2 separate regions of the Homo sapiens genome follow, and region 2 is linked to region 1. The links are contacts of gene promoters, found by promoter capture Hi-C in blood cells and fetal thymus (Javierre and others, 2016). All regions are on one chromosome and are shown on one strand. Each heading gives the region's core, a stretch centred on a gene start or on the middle of the fragment in contact. The rest is flanking DNA. Distances are from core to core; before and after follow the strand shown. Region 1 holds the start of SMC1A (structural maintenance of chromosomes 1A). Region 2 overlaps NBDY (negative regulator of P-body association).

Evidence for each region. The method cuts DNA at HindIII sites, captures the fragments that hold promoters and counts their contacts. A CHiCAGO score of 5 or more calls a contact.
Region 2: a fragment that was not itself captured here is called in contact with the fragment with the promoter of SMC1A in region 1 in 1 of 17 cell types (fetal thymus); the score reaches 7.8 in fetal thymus.

What each region holds. Positions count from the first base shown.
Region 1 is chrX:53,417,538-53,425,299 of GRCh38, reverse strand. SMC1A (structural maintenance of chromosomes 1A) reads left to right here and starts at 2,646. Exons shown (of 25, transcript NM_006306.4): 1 at 2,646-2,808. The coding sequence starts at 2,700. RIBC1 (RIB43A domain with coiled-coils 1) reads right to left here and starts at 2,427. Exons shown (of 8, transcript NM_001031745.5): 1 at 2,296-2,427; 2 at 1,898-1,986. RefSeq lists enhancers at 2,339-2,388, 1,543-2,514, 2,679-2,858, 3,049-3,098, 3,219-3,398 and 1 more. The HindIII fragment of the contact is 3,638 bases long and covers 1,717-5,354 here.
Region 2 is chrX:56,793,926-56,800,654 of GRCh38, reverse strand. The region is part of intron 2 of NBDY (negative regulator of P-body association); the gene reads right to left. Among named protein-coding and RNA genes, the nearest start is that of NBDY, 68 kb to the right of the region's middle. The HindIII fragment of the contact is 4,293 bases long and covers 1-3,805 here.

The DNA.
Region 1 (7,762 bases), core at 1,397-3,896:
GGGCTTTCAAGATCTAGTTCCTGCACACCTCTCCAATTTGTCTCAAACCACTGTCTCCCTTGCTTACAGTGCTCCAGGCAAGCTGATCAAGTCCTCCAACACAGTAATTGTTCCCACCCCGGGGCCTTTGTATGTGCTGTTCCTTTGTTTGGAGCGTGATTCTTTAATTCCTCCTATAGCTATTTGGATCTTTTTGGTGTTTTGTTTTGTTTTCCATTTTGTAACTGTGAAGTAGTTGAACATATATGCCCGGCTGATTTTTGTATTTTTAGTAGAGATGGGGTTTCACAGTGTTAGCCAGGATAGTCTCAATCTCCTGACCTTATGATCCACCCTCCTTGGCCTCCCAAAGTGCTGGGATTACAGGCATGAGCCACCACACCTGGCCCCATTTAATTTTTTTTAATATAGATGGGGTCTCACTATATTGCCCAAGCTAGTCTTGAACTCAAGCAATTCTCCTGCCTCGGCCTCCCAAAGTGCTGGTATTACAGGCATGAGCCATTGTGCCCGGCGTCACTTAGGTTTTTAATCCACTTGGAGTTGCATTTTGTGTATGGTGTGAGATAAGGATCCAATTTAATTTTCCCCCCAAGTGCCATCTCATCTTTTTTAAATTTAAAATTTTATTTTATTTTTGGCCGGGCGCGGTGGCTCACGCCTGTAATCCCAGCACTTTGGGAGGCCGAGGCAGGTGGATCAGGAGGTCAGGAGTTCAAGACCAGCCTGGCCAACATAGTGAAACCCTGTCTTTACTAAAAATACAAAAAAATTAGCCAGGCGTGGCAGTGGGCACCTGTAATCCTAGCTACTTGGAAGGCTGAGGCAGAGAATAAAATTTATTTTATTTTTAATTTGTTTTAGATGGGGTCTCTCTCTGTTGCCCAGGATGGAGTGTAGTGGTGCAATCATGGCTCACTGCAGCCTCAAACTCCTGGGCTCAAAGGATCTTCCTGCCCCAGCCTCCTGAGTAGCTGGGACTACAGGTGTGTGCCACCATGCCTGCCTAATTTTTAAAATTTTTTTGTAGAGATTGGGTTTTGCTATGTTACCCAGGCTCACCATCTCATCTTTTAAAAGGGAACAGTATTTCCCCATGGATTACATGAGATTGCTGTCTTTTAGCCATTTTATCCCCTCAGCCTGATTGTTTCTCCCAGCTGAACTTCATTTATGGCTCCCCTACTAGATTCCATCTACCAAGCTTCCTCCCTTTATTTATTTTTGAGACAGGGTATTGCTCTGTCACCTAGGCTGGAGTGAAGTGGTGCGGACACCACTCACTACAGCCTCAACCTCCCAGGCTCAAGTGATCCTCCTGCTTCGGCATCCTGGGTAGACCAGAGGTGAGAGCTGCCACACCCAGCTAATTTTTTAATTTTTAGTAGAGATAGGGTCTCACTATGTTGCCCAGGCTGGTCTTGAACTGCTGGTCTCAAGTGATCCTCCTGCCTTGGCCTGCCTCCCTCACGATGGGATTACAGTTGTCAGCCACCATGCCCAGCCACTTCCTCACTTTCCTGGACTTGTCCTAAGTCTTTAGGACTCTTTCTAGCCTTCGGACATAATTTAATAAATAGTTAAAGGAATAATTATGGCAACCACCAGATCCTTTCCATGTTTAAGTCTGAGAATGGCACCAACTTACCTACTGGTTTCACCTGCCATTACAGTATAAGGTCACTGAAGGGGAAGATTCAGCTGACATTTTAAGCTTCTTGGATTGCTAAGGCCCCTGCCTTATTAATGATAGAGAGCAGAGAGGGAAGAGAGGTAAGGTGGCATTGTGGTATAGAGCTGTGGGAATGGGATGGGGGAGAGGCATGGAGGCAGAGGTAGGTGGAGGTGGAGAGCGCTGGCTTAGGGACCCTGACTCCTGGGGGTTCACACAAAATACCTTTCTCAGTAAGGAATCCCGATTTTGAAGCTCTTAGGTTGGCTCTGCATGCAACTTTGTTCTTGGGTTACGGCGGCAGTTTCTGAACTCTGCTTGGTACAACAGGAGGGAGGCAGGGGATAGGGGTAGTATCTCAGGCCGTAGCCTTCCCCAGCCTGTATCCCTGTTGCCTGGGAGTAGCCCCAGTCCCATTCACAACCCGTCCGCCTTCGCAACCCGTCCCGCCACCAATCCCACCCCACCATTAGCAAAGTCTGAGCTCACCTAACACTGAATCCTCCCGTTGGCCCCTCCTTCCCGTCCAGCTCTCCGCTCCCCCCGGGTCCTTCCAATTCCCGACCCTGTCCTTGTCCTAGCCTTGAAAGCTGGCCAGGCTAAAGCCACAGCCGAGCTCCCACCTTCCTCTTGCCCTGAGGGGCATAATCCTGCTGTGACTTCTGTCTCAGCAAGCGTGAGCTCAGGTCTCCCCCGCCTCCTTGAACCTCAAGAACTGCTCTGACTCCGCCCAGCAACAACTCCTCCGGGGATCTGGTCCGCAGGAGCAAGTGTTTGTTGTTGCCATGCAACAAGAAAGGGGGGCGGAGGCACCACGCCAGTCGTCAGCTCGCTCCTCGTATACGCAACATCAGTCCCCGCCCCTGGTCCCACTCCTGCCGGAAGGCGAAAATCCCGTTAGGCCTGGACGTATTCTCGCGACATTTGCCGGTCGCCCGGCTTGCACTGCGGCGTTTCCCGCGCGGGCTACCTCAGTTCTCGGGCGTACGGCGCGGCCTGTCCTACTGCCGCCGGCGCCGCGGCCGTCATGGGGTTCCTGAAACTGATTGAGATTGAGAACTTTAAGTCGTACAAGGGTCGACAGATTATCGGACCATTTCAGAGGTTCACCGCCATCATTGGACCCAATGGCTCTGGTGAGATAAACCTGGCCGCGGCCCTGCGCACGTCCCGGCCTGGACCCCTTATCCGGTGCCGGAGTAGTACAACCCAGCCCATGTAACCTGAAACGTCGCGGACCCTTACGGGTTCCTTGCCCGTCCAGAGGGGGTTCTGCTCGAACCCACTCTCCCCGCGCGGGTGCTCTAACTCGAACCCCTTCCAGGTGTCACTTGCCGCTTCCTGCGCGGCCCCCGCCCCGGCCCAGTGGTACAGGCCGAGCTGCCAGTTACCCCGCCTACTTCCCCCTCCCGCCAAAGGAGTCGCGTCTGGAACCAGCTTCCCGCCAGCTCAGTCCTCCGCCGCGCGGCTCCCCGCCGGACCGGCCGGAGCCGGCTTCCCAGCCTTACTTGACCCCCTCCGGAGAATGTGGGGACGCTGGTAGCTCTCCCGTGGCCTTCGGTCCCAAACGGTGCACTTCTGTTTCAGCCCAGCGTCCTCTCTCGCCTCGCATTGGTACACTCCAACTCCTTTCTACTCTTCTCTGGAGGCGGCACTTTTGAATTTCAGACCCAGCGCTCCAGTCTTTAGAATGCTTGAGGTGTCGATCCCCACCCCCCACCGCTATGTCAGAGGTAGTTGCCTCGAACTCGCCCTTTTCCTACCACCGAAACCGTCAAAAGCCGAAATTAACTAATTTACCAAATTTGTTGAATGCTTATTGTTTATCAGGAGTTATTCAGTTGCAAGTTGTGGAAACAGCGGAGAATAGAATAAACCAACTCCATGCTCACAGGGAACTTATATTCCAGAGGGGAAAGAAGATAAGGAGAAAATAAGATGGTTTTAGGCTGTCATAAGTGCTATACAGGAAATGAGACAGGTGGATGTGATAAAGTGACTTAGGTGGTGTCTTTAGAAAGGGTGGTCAGGTAAAGCCTCTATTTTGTGTCTTCCCAACTCTAAACGATACACCGTGGATTCCTCTCACCTCAGATGTCCATTTGGAATCCTGCTGTATTCTTCCACCCCAGAGATGTTCTAGCTGAATGATATCCTAGCCTAAGAGGCTGCCCTTGCTGAAGTAGCACATACTGAGTACCTTTCCTGGAGACTGAGTGTCTCAACAGTGGCACTATTGACATTTCCAGCGAGATAATCCTTTGCTGTGGGATGTGCTCTGTGCATTGTAGGATGTTTAACAGCATCTCTGGCATCTACCTGCTAGATAACAGTAGCACCCCTGCTCCCCAGGCATGACAATCAAAACTGTCTCTAGACATTGCTAGATGTCACAGAGGGTGTGTGTGATTCCCCCAACCCCCCAACTTGTTTGAGAACCACTGGCCTGGAGGGCTAATGCTTGGTGTCCACCCAGTTTCCTCGGGTTTTAGTGTAGTGGCCCCTGTTGGAAGAGCTAGGATGTACCTCTTGGCATTCAGTCCCCTCAGCATTAGTAGATTTGTATTCCCAGCTGTTCTGAAAAGGGCTATGGCACTCCCCCACTTGCCCCCGTTCTTCAAGGCCCACCTCTACAAGCCATTCCTTTAGTCCCTTTGGTGAGTGAGTCTTCCTCTGTGGCATACCGTAGACACTTGGTACACGTTAATGTTTATTAAGTCCTATATTGATGGTGCATGTTTTTGTATCTTCATTGGCCTGTGAGTACCCTAAAGCAGACATTCCTTGAAACGTTTTACTGGTGTTCAGTCCATAATATATATTACAAAAATGTTTACCATATTGATTGTGATTAGAGAGGCTTGGGGTTGTGAGATGATGTTGTCCTCCCTGGAAATGATGGGAGAAGCCCAAAGGTTGGATATTGGTTCCTAAAAGGCTGACTCCTGGTCTGCATGATGTGCTAGTCCTGCTGTGATGAGGGAGACAGCTGAGTCCAGACTTAGGATAGGACTAATTAATTGAGTACCTACTCTGTGTGTCAAGTACTTTATTTATTGGGACCCTGTTTTTTCTTTTTCTTTTTCTTTTCTTTTTTTTTTTTTTTGAGACAGTCTTGCTCTGTTGTCCAGGCTGGAGTGCAGTGGCATGATGTTGGCTCACTGCAACCTCTGCCTCTTGGGTTCAAGTGATTCTCGTGCCTCAGCCTCCCAAGTAGCTGGGACTACAGGCGTGCGCCACCCCATCTGGCTAGTTCTTGTATTTTTAGTAGAGTTGGTGTTTCTCCCAGTTGGCCAGGCTGGTCTCAAACTCCTGGGCTCAAGTGATCTGCCTGCCTCAGCCTCCCAAAGTGCTGGGATTACAGGCATGAGCCACTGCACCCAGCCAAGGGACCCTTTACAATTAAATTCTCAAAATGACCCTAGGAGGAAAATGCCAATAGCTTCGTTTTATACATGAGGAGACTAAGGCACAGAGGTGTGATAACTTGTCCGTGGTTCTCAGAACCCATGCCTGTGCTCCTGCCACTCCAATAGAGAAGTATGTGCCGCACATATTTTTAGACCCGTGAATTGTGGTTTTTTTCATCTTTTTCCAGGTGAGGGAATGGAAGGTCAGCTAAGTGGTAGTGAAAGTAAGATTAGAACCTGGTCTGTTGGTTCTAAGCCCAAGTTTGCAAGCTTTTTTAGATGGAGTCTCACTCTGACGCCCACACTGGAGTGCAGTGGCATGACCTCGGCTCACTGCAACTTCTGCCTGCTGGGTTCAAGTGATTCTTTTCTTTTTTTTCTTTTTTTTTTTTTTGAGATGAAGTCTTTCTCTGTCGCCCAGGCTGGAGTGCAGTGGCGTGATCTCAGCTCACTGCAACCTCTGCCTCCCGGGTTCAAGCTATTCTCCTGCCTCAGCCTCCTGAGGAGCTGGGATTACAGGCGTGCACCACTATGCCCGGCCAGTTTTTGTATTTTTAGTAGAGACGGGGTTTCACCACGTTGTTCAGGCTGGTCTCAAACTCCTGACCCCGTGATCTGCCCACCTGGGCCTCCCAAAGTGCTGCGATTACAGGTGTGAGCCACCGCGCCTGGCCTATTTTTTTTTTTTTTGGAGTCAGGGTCTTGCTCTGTCACCAAGGCTGGCATACAGTGGCACAATCATGGCTCACTGCAGCCTCAACTTCTCGGGCTCAAGCAACCCTCCCATCTCAGCCTTCCCAGTAGTCAGGACAACTGGAGTGTGCCACCATGCCGAGCCAATTTTTGTATTTTTTGTAGAGATGGGATTTTGCCATGTTGTCCAGGCTGGTCTCAAACTCCCGAGGTCAAGTGATCCACCCACGTCTGCTTCCCAGAGTGCTGGGATTACAGGCGTGAGATGCCGTGTCCAACCTAATCATAGTCTTATACCGTCTCTATGGAAGGACTTGGGCTGCTGTTTTTATGGCTGAGTAGAAAGGTGTTGGAAATCAGATCTTCAGTTCAAAGTCATATATAAGTTCTTTAGGGACAGTCTTGAGATAGAAATTATAGAGACTAAACTGTTCCTCCTTATCCACCAGCCCGACTAAACTTTTTTTTTTTTTTTTTTTTTTTTGAGACAGAGTCTCTCTCTGTCGCCCAGGTTGGAGTGCAGTGGCGCGATCTCAGCTCACTGTAACCTCCACCTCCTGGGTTTAAGCGATTCTCGTGCCTCAGCCTCCCGAGTAGCTGGGATTATAGGCACACAACCGTGCCTGGCTAATTTTTGTATTTTTAGTAGGGACGGGGTTTCACCATGTTGGCCAGGCTGGTCTCAAACTCCTGACCTCAGGTGATCCGCCTGCCTCGGCCTTTCAAAGTGCTGGGATTACAGTCATGAGCCACTGCACCCGGCCTAAACTTTTAAAACAATATCTATTTTTTGGCCAGGAACGGTGGCTCATGCCTGTAACCCCAGCACTTTGGGAGTCCAAGGTGGAGGATCTCTGGAGCTCAGGAGTTTGAGACCAGCCTAGGCAACATAGGGAGACCCTGCTTCTGCAAAAATCCAAAAACTAGCTGGGCATGGTGGCTTATGCCCATGCTTCCCGCTACTTGGGAGGCTGAGACAGGAGGATCACTTGAGCCAAGGAGGTCAAGGCTGCAGAGAGCTGTGATACTGCTACTGCACTCCAGCCTGGGTGACAGAGTCAGACCCTGTCTCAATAAATAAATGAATAAGGTCTGGGCGTGGTAGCTTATGCCTGTAATCCCAGCACTTTAGGAGACCGAGGTGGGTGGATCACTTGAGGTCAGGAATTCGAGACCAGCCTGGCTAACATGATGAAACCCCATCTCTACTAAAAATACAAAAATTAACTAGGTGTGGTGGCACACGCTTGTCGTCCCAGCTATTCAGGAGACTGAGGCAGGAGAATCACTTGAACTTGGTAGGTGCAATCTAGCGTGGGCGATAGAGCGAGACTCCATCTCAAAAAATAAATAAAATAAGTAAATGAAACCTTTTTTGTTTTCGGATTCTAAAATGAACAAAGTAAAAGCTGTAACTCCACTACTGAAAAGATAGCCACTGTTAATGTTGAAAACCTTATTTATTTGAATAGCTGGTACATGTACATGGTATACAATTTTAAAAATCCTTAAGGATATACAGTAGTAAAAAGAAGACTCCCTTGACCCTAGCTGCTTAGTTTCCTTTTCAGAGGCAATCACTGCTGCACTGTTTACGTTTTCATATATTTGTTTCCTATGCCTTCTCTTCTCCCAAGTTTTATTATGAAAATTTGCAAGCATATATGTGCATTACTTAGTCATTTGGAAGTAAATTACAGACTCAATTACATTTCACCCCTAAGTGCTTCAGCATTCACCTCTTAAAATCATCATTCTCCTGTACTACCACTATTCAGTTATCACAACTAAGAAAATTTCCTCATGTCATCAATTATCCAGTTTATATTTAAGCTTCCTTAACTTGCTCCCCAAATGTCTTTTTGTTATTTTGGAACCAGAGTCCAGTCAAAGTTTGTGCACTGTTTACCTATGTCTCAGAAATCTCTCATGTTTTGGAATGGTTCGCTCACTTTTTTTTTTTTTTTTTTTTTGAGATGGAGTTTTG
Region 2 (6,729 bases), core at 410-2,909, 3.4 Mb before region 1:
GGGTGAGCAATGAGGTTGAGAGTGAACTGAAATGCAGGATATCCCAGGTGGAAAGGTGGCTGCCCAAATGGCCTCTTGTGCCTTCGTACAAGAAGAGTCACCTACCAGAGAAAAGCATCAGACCCTTAGGCCAGGGTTTGTACTGGGTCCACACAGAGGCCAGTGGAGCCAAGAGACTGCGCTGCTCCACACTGCCCCCACCCCCACACCATCCCACACACTCCACCAGCAAATACTGGGAAGCCAGACAGAAAGGGAGAACAAAAATGAATAAGAGAAAACCGGGAAGCTGAAGAACCCTTCCCATTGAGAGTTACCTAGATGTGGGGATCTGAGTGTGAGCACAGGTGCCTGGGCAGACACCTTTTAGTGAGTATTGGTGGGGATGCATGTATGTGCCTGAGAACATATAGAAGCACAGATGAAGACAGGAAAAAAGTTAGATGAGATGGGAGTTAAATATTACAAATGAGGATTTCTGACACTCAAAGTCACCTTGCCACCCCTAAGGACACAGTCCAGATCTTCCTGCATTCTTTTCTTCCTATGTTTTCCCTAGGCAGGCACCAGTCTCCTTCTGAGGAGACCTGTGCAGATTCATAGAAGAATCTGCAGCGGCCCACACACAGGCCTAAACACCCACACACCCCTCCCCCTTTACCCCCTCACACTGCCCCCGGTGCTACAAATCCACAGCAAAAGCATAGCATTTCTTGAGGATAGGCTCCTCTGGATTACTGGGACCCCCTGCCCAGAGAAGAATCCAGAGGGTAGGAGAGGCAGACATCACTCCTACTGTTGCAAGTTTCCCCAAAGTAACCACATAGGTGGGGAGCCCTGTTGAAGATGAGGTGGGTGCTGCTTGGGCAGTTTCTTTGTTTCTTTGTTTTTTTTGTGTGTGTTTGTTTTGTTTGGTTGGCAGCAAAAGGAAGGAGAGAAAGGCAAAGTGGAGGAAGGAAAAGGGGTGATTGCCATTTGTGGAGTCACAGTGCCATCCGGCGGAAGGTGTTTCTTGACAACAGACTACAAGGACACTTGCCTTCTTCCAGTCACAGATATCAGCGAGGATGTGCCAGGCTGGGTAGACTAGGCCCAAGCCAGGGTTTCCCCCACTGGGGTTCAGAGCCCTTAAGGAAGTGTACCTGCCATTGGAACTCCATGAAGAAGCAGCTAAGCTAGAGGCCCGGGGACAGAACAGTCTGGCAGCCCCAAGACCAGTCAGCCCAGTGGGCGGAGCTTCCCCATCTTGAAATGGGTTTAAGAGAAACCACTGTTCACTGACTGCCGAGACTGGGGCCATTTGCTCTGGTCTCTTTTGTGGAGAGTTCAGGGGTGCCCTTGGCTGGGGCCACGCAGGGACAGGGGCACCCTATCCTCCCTGGGAACAAAGAAGTTTTGGGATGCTGGGGTGGGGCAACTCATGCCAAGCAGTCTCTGGGGGCTGCCAGGGGAACCCATGGTGGGCCGCCCCTGCCTGTCCATTCTTACAAAGAGAGCTGTGGAGCCAGGGCGCTATCCTGGGAATGAGCATAGACCATGGGCCAGACAGGAGTTCCTCTCCCAGCTTCAGCCTGGGGGCTCCACACCACCATCTGTCTGGCACTCCCGAGCGTTCCTCAGCACATGAGCTCAGGTGCCTCCCATTTCCAGAAACAATTTCCACTTGATGGCACTATGGCTCCACAAACGCCAAGTACAGTTGTAACCCTGCTCCTCCACCCTGAGGGCCTCCACCTTTTCCAATGTGAAAAAAGCAAATAGGAAGGAGAACGAGAAAAAGACAGGAGGGAGAGAAAGGAACGAGCCAACTGGTCCCAGGTTGACCACCAAAACTCACAGGTCCCAATGACCAAGGACCAGTAGGCTGGAGACCCTGCAGGAATACTGTTTAGGCAGCCAGTCTTTGCCCTTCTTTGGCCTTCTCCAGGTTTCATGTCTCCTGCTCCTGCAGAAAGTAAAAGACAAATGACAGATAATCATGGGCACTGGGACACAAGAGGCTTGGGATTAAAGGGCTGCCGTTCCAAGACAAGGTGCTGGTCACTCAGCTGGCTTACACAAGGTTTTACTGCAGGACTAGGAGTCCTCCCAAAGGCTCTAGGTAGTTTACCGCCTTGGGCTGGCAGATGGAGGTCACCAGAACGGGCAGACTGCTCAACAGGGAGCCACAGGACCTGAGGCAGGTGTATCCCTTAGAAAGCACACTCAGCAACTCGTGCAAGTCTGACTCTGCACAGGCTGTCCTGGCTTTCACACAGGCAGGGGTGGGAGGATGTGGCTTAGGGGGACTCAAAAAGGCCACCACGTTGCCACAGATTCCCATGACATCACAAAGGGCTAAGGATCCCAACAGGACTCTCTCTGCCTCTATCTGAAAGGGGAGTCTGTTTTTAAGCGGGTTGACCCAGGATGCTCCAGTTTCACATCTGCTGCTGTGGCCTTTCTGATAAAAGATTGCCCGCATTCATTTTTGGGAGAAAGCCAAGTTGCCCAATCAATGGCATGAGGACCCAGGCCTGAAGCCAGGAATGCTTGCCCATAGCCCATTGCTTGTCAGAGATTAAGAGCCCGTATGAGACAGTGTGGGCAGTCTCATGCCTGTGGCTTTGTGTGTTTGTTTACCTCTAAGTGTGAGAATGCTTGAGCCCCAACCCCTGTGCCCATGTGAGGTTACCTGTTTATTGGTCTGGTTGTGTATGTGTGACTTTATGTGTCAGTGTGCCTGCGTGTGTGTGTCTGCATGTGTGTTTGTGTCTGCATCTGCATGTATCTCCATGTGTGTATGGGTTTTGTAATTTCATTTCTGGTTGTGGGGTTTCTTGTGAGTGTGTGCATGTGTTCTGTGTCTGTGGTCTGTGAGTTCCTGCTTGTGTGAGTGAGAGTGGGCAAATTGGCACATGGCAGAGACAGCCTGACTGTACACACTGAAATCCGTATCGTTTTGTTCACCTGGCCTGACTGGAAGGAAAGGCAATAGGGGAACAATGTAACAAATTGCTGAGGCTCCTACTGACTCAGGTTTACACATTTAGAGAGTCCACAAGGAGAACAGGAAAGAATGGTGGGCTATAAGGTACTAGGTACAGGGTGTGTTTACCATGACATTTCACTTAAAAGTAACACGAGGACAGCTTTTTGGTGGAAAAGAAGGACTGAACTGGTGACCTTCATCGCTGTTCTTTTAAGAAGAAAAGTGAAGCATTTCTTGAGGCCTAGAGCTGCAGAAGGACATTCCCCATCACCAAGGAGAAGAAGAAGCAATCTGCTAGAACATTTGCATGCAGAAATCCAAAAGTGAAAAAAAAAGGAAAGAAAGAAGAACAAGTAGAAGAAGAAGGAGAAGAAAAGTAGAAAAAAAGATGTAGAAGGAGAAATAGAAAAGAAGGAGAGAAAGAAAAAGAAGGCAAAAAGAGAAGTCAAAGAAGAAAAGAAGAAGGAGAAGGAGGAGGAAAAGGAAAGAAGGAGAGAAGAAGAGGAAGAGGAAGAAGAAGAAGGAGAAGGAGGGAAGGGGAAGAAGAGGAAGAAGAAGAAGAAAGAAGAAGAGGGAAAGAAAAAGAAGAAGAAGGAGAGGGAGTTGGAGGAGGAGGAGGAGGAAAGGAGGAAAAGAACAATAAAGAAGAGGAGCAGGAGTAGGAAAAGGAAGAAGAAACAGAAGGAGAAAAAGAATAGGAAGTGGGAGGTCCATGACACTGTAGCTCTCCTGAAGGATCTAGTTCAGGGGGACCTGAATGTGTGATGACATACACAACGAGTGGCAGGGAGCCACCGGTCATGTCCCACTTAAAGGACACACAACCGAGAAGCTTCTTGTCAATGAGATCTTTCCTGAGTGGGATCAAAAGCTTTGATCCACAAATAGTCCTGCAGGAGCTACAGAAGACACAGGTGTAGGCTGAACAGTGCCCTGAGGATGTCATCAGCAGACTGCAAGGAACCACTGAGCCCCAAGCCTACAAGGCCAAGGCAGGGAAGGACCCCCAAAAAGAGAGGAAGATGAAAAACGGGGAGGAAATATATATCAGGGAAAAGAGATAATCAGCCACAAATGGCAATATGGAGAGAGGGCAGAAAGGAAAGGGAAATGCCAATCACTCCTTGCAGGGATCAGCTGGGGTCCTTCTAATTTCCTTAGGAAAAATAAGTTTGTTTTCCCTAAGGGTGTTCCCTAGCCCAGTTGACCCTGACTTCCAGGCTGATCCTGACCTCCCCAAACAAAAGTGAATGAAAAGTAAAAAGAGTAAAGAAGAAAAAAGTGAAGGGAGAAAACCTCCAAAACTACACAAAGAATCAGAGTGAGCAATGAAGTTGAGAGTGAACTGGAATGCAGAGTGCTCCAGGTGGGCAGCTGGCAGCCCAAGTGGCCTCCTGTGGGCTCACAGAGAGGGAGCCATCAGCCAGGAGAAAGAGTCAGTCCCATAATCCCAGATCTCCACCACATCCGCACAGAGGCCTGTTAGGCCAGGGGGCTGCCCTGCTCCCCGCTGCCCCCACCCCAACCCCATCCTGAACATTATGCCAACAAATACTGGGAAGTCAGACAGAAAGGGACAAGAAAGATGAAGAGGGAACCGGAAACCTGAAAAACTGCCCACTGAGAGCGGCCTAGAGGACCAGACACAGGTGTGAATGAAGGTGTCTGGGCAGACACTTATGAGCATGGGTGGGGATACATGGATGTGCCTGAGGACCTATGCAAGCACAGATGAAGACAGGAAAAAGTTGAGACATAATGGGGGTTAAAAGTTAAAAACGAGAACCTCTGAAACTCAGAGTCACAATGCCACCCCTAAAGACACAGTCCAGATCTTCCTGCATTCTTTTATTCTCGCGTTTTCCCTAGGCAGGGCCAGAGGTGCGCCCGTGGTGGATGCTACCTACATATGAAAAAAGGACCTGCATTTGTTGACAATTAAAAGAAATCGGGTGAAGCCTGTTCCATGGTCATGTGGGTCTTCTCCACGGAATGCCCAGAGAGTGCAGGCCCATACACGAGATTGACGTTCCTCTTGTGAGAGTGGTTCACGCACCCCTGATTGTGGGAATCATTACCCATGGGGTAAATTTTCTGTCCTGTGAAACTCTGCCTGTTCCCAGTGCAGCCTACACATCAAGAAAGACTTGTAACAAGCAAAGACAGAGAACAGTTGCAATATTCAGAGAGCATTGTGTTCCAAGCTGCTGCCCAGGCACTGAGCAGCATGGGTAGCATATGTAACCTTTAGAGCAACACGGTCATGGCTTCGCATCCCAACATGGGCTTTGTATGATGGACCACGTCAGGCTTTCTTATGTCTGCCTGGAGACCCTAAAGGGCCGGCATAATTTGTCCTCGACCATCTCATTCATTTTCTGGGATGAATATCCAGCAAGCACCAGAGTTTACCTTGAGGACCCCAGAGAGCTCTGTATCAAACCAAGGCACAATTGCCCAACCACAAATTAAAACACTCCACATAAAATCTCTCCTTTCACACGCAGCACAGCAACACAGACAGGCCCAGGTGAAAGCGAGCTACCCATGCACTTTGGCAGAATGACCAAGATGCCAGAACAACTAACTGGTGAACCACCACGTTCCAGTAAGCATGCATGCTCTATCAGACATGCCAAGTGGCTCTCTCTCCAGAAGAGCCAACTGTGAAATTCACCCAGAAATACCCCTCCCACTTCTGGGCACGAATGAGTGCCTGGGCTCCAGTGAGAGAGGTCGCTGAAGGTCTCAGACAAGAGTCCCTCCCATCCAGTCCCATCACAAGAAATATCTGGCCCGAATCCCTGCAGCTGGATGGGTCAACAATGTATGGATACCTGTTTGAACTGGCTGCTTTCCATCCAAGCTTTTAACCTTTCAGCAAGAAAAAGACTGCTGCCTAGAGACAAGTGTGGTGTGCACCAGCATTCGGCCTGGTCTCTTCTTAGGAGACCTGTGCAGATTCATAGAGGAATCGGCAGGGGCCCACACGCAGGCCCACTCACCCACACACCCCTCCCCCTGTACCCCCTCACACTGCCCCCAGTGCAACCTACCCCCACCATGCCACCGCCTAAGGGTGGGATGTATTGAGGATAGGATCCTCTAATTCACTGGGACCCCTGCCCAGAGAAGAATCTAGAGGGAAGGGGGAAGGCAGAGAACCCTCCTACTGTTGCAGGTTTCCGCAAAGTGACCTCGTAGGTGGGGAGACCTGCTATAGGTGAGGTGGGTACTCCTTGGACAGTTTCTTTCTTTGTTTCTTTGCTTTTGTTTTTTTGTGTTGGTTTTGTTCAGTTGGCAGGAAATGGAGAAAGACGAAGGCACAGTGGGGGAAGAAGAAGACATGACTGCCATTTGTGGAGTCGCAGTGCCATCCAGCAGAAGGTGTTTCTGAACATGACAACAGGCTGCGGAAACACTTGCCTTCTGCTAGGCACCGAGGTCAGCAAAAATATGCGGGGCTGGGTGGACTCTGCCTGAGCCAGGGTTTCCCCGACCAGGGTTTAGAGCCCTAGAACAAAGCGTACCTGCCGTTGGGACCCCTTGGAGAAGCAGCTACTCTAGAGGCCCAGAGACAGAGCAGCCATGCAGCCTGCAGACCAGTCAACCCACAGGGTGGAGCTGCCCCAGCAGCCATTTTGAGATGTGCATAAGGGAAGCCACTGGCAACTGATGGATGAGAATGGGGCTGTTTACCCTGGTCTCTTTTGTGGGCAGCTCCGAGGTGCCCTTGGGGGGCCACAGGGGGAACAGGG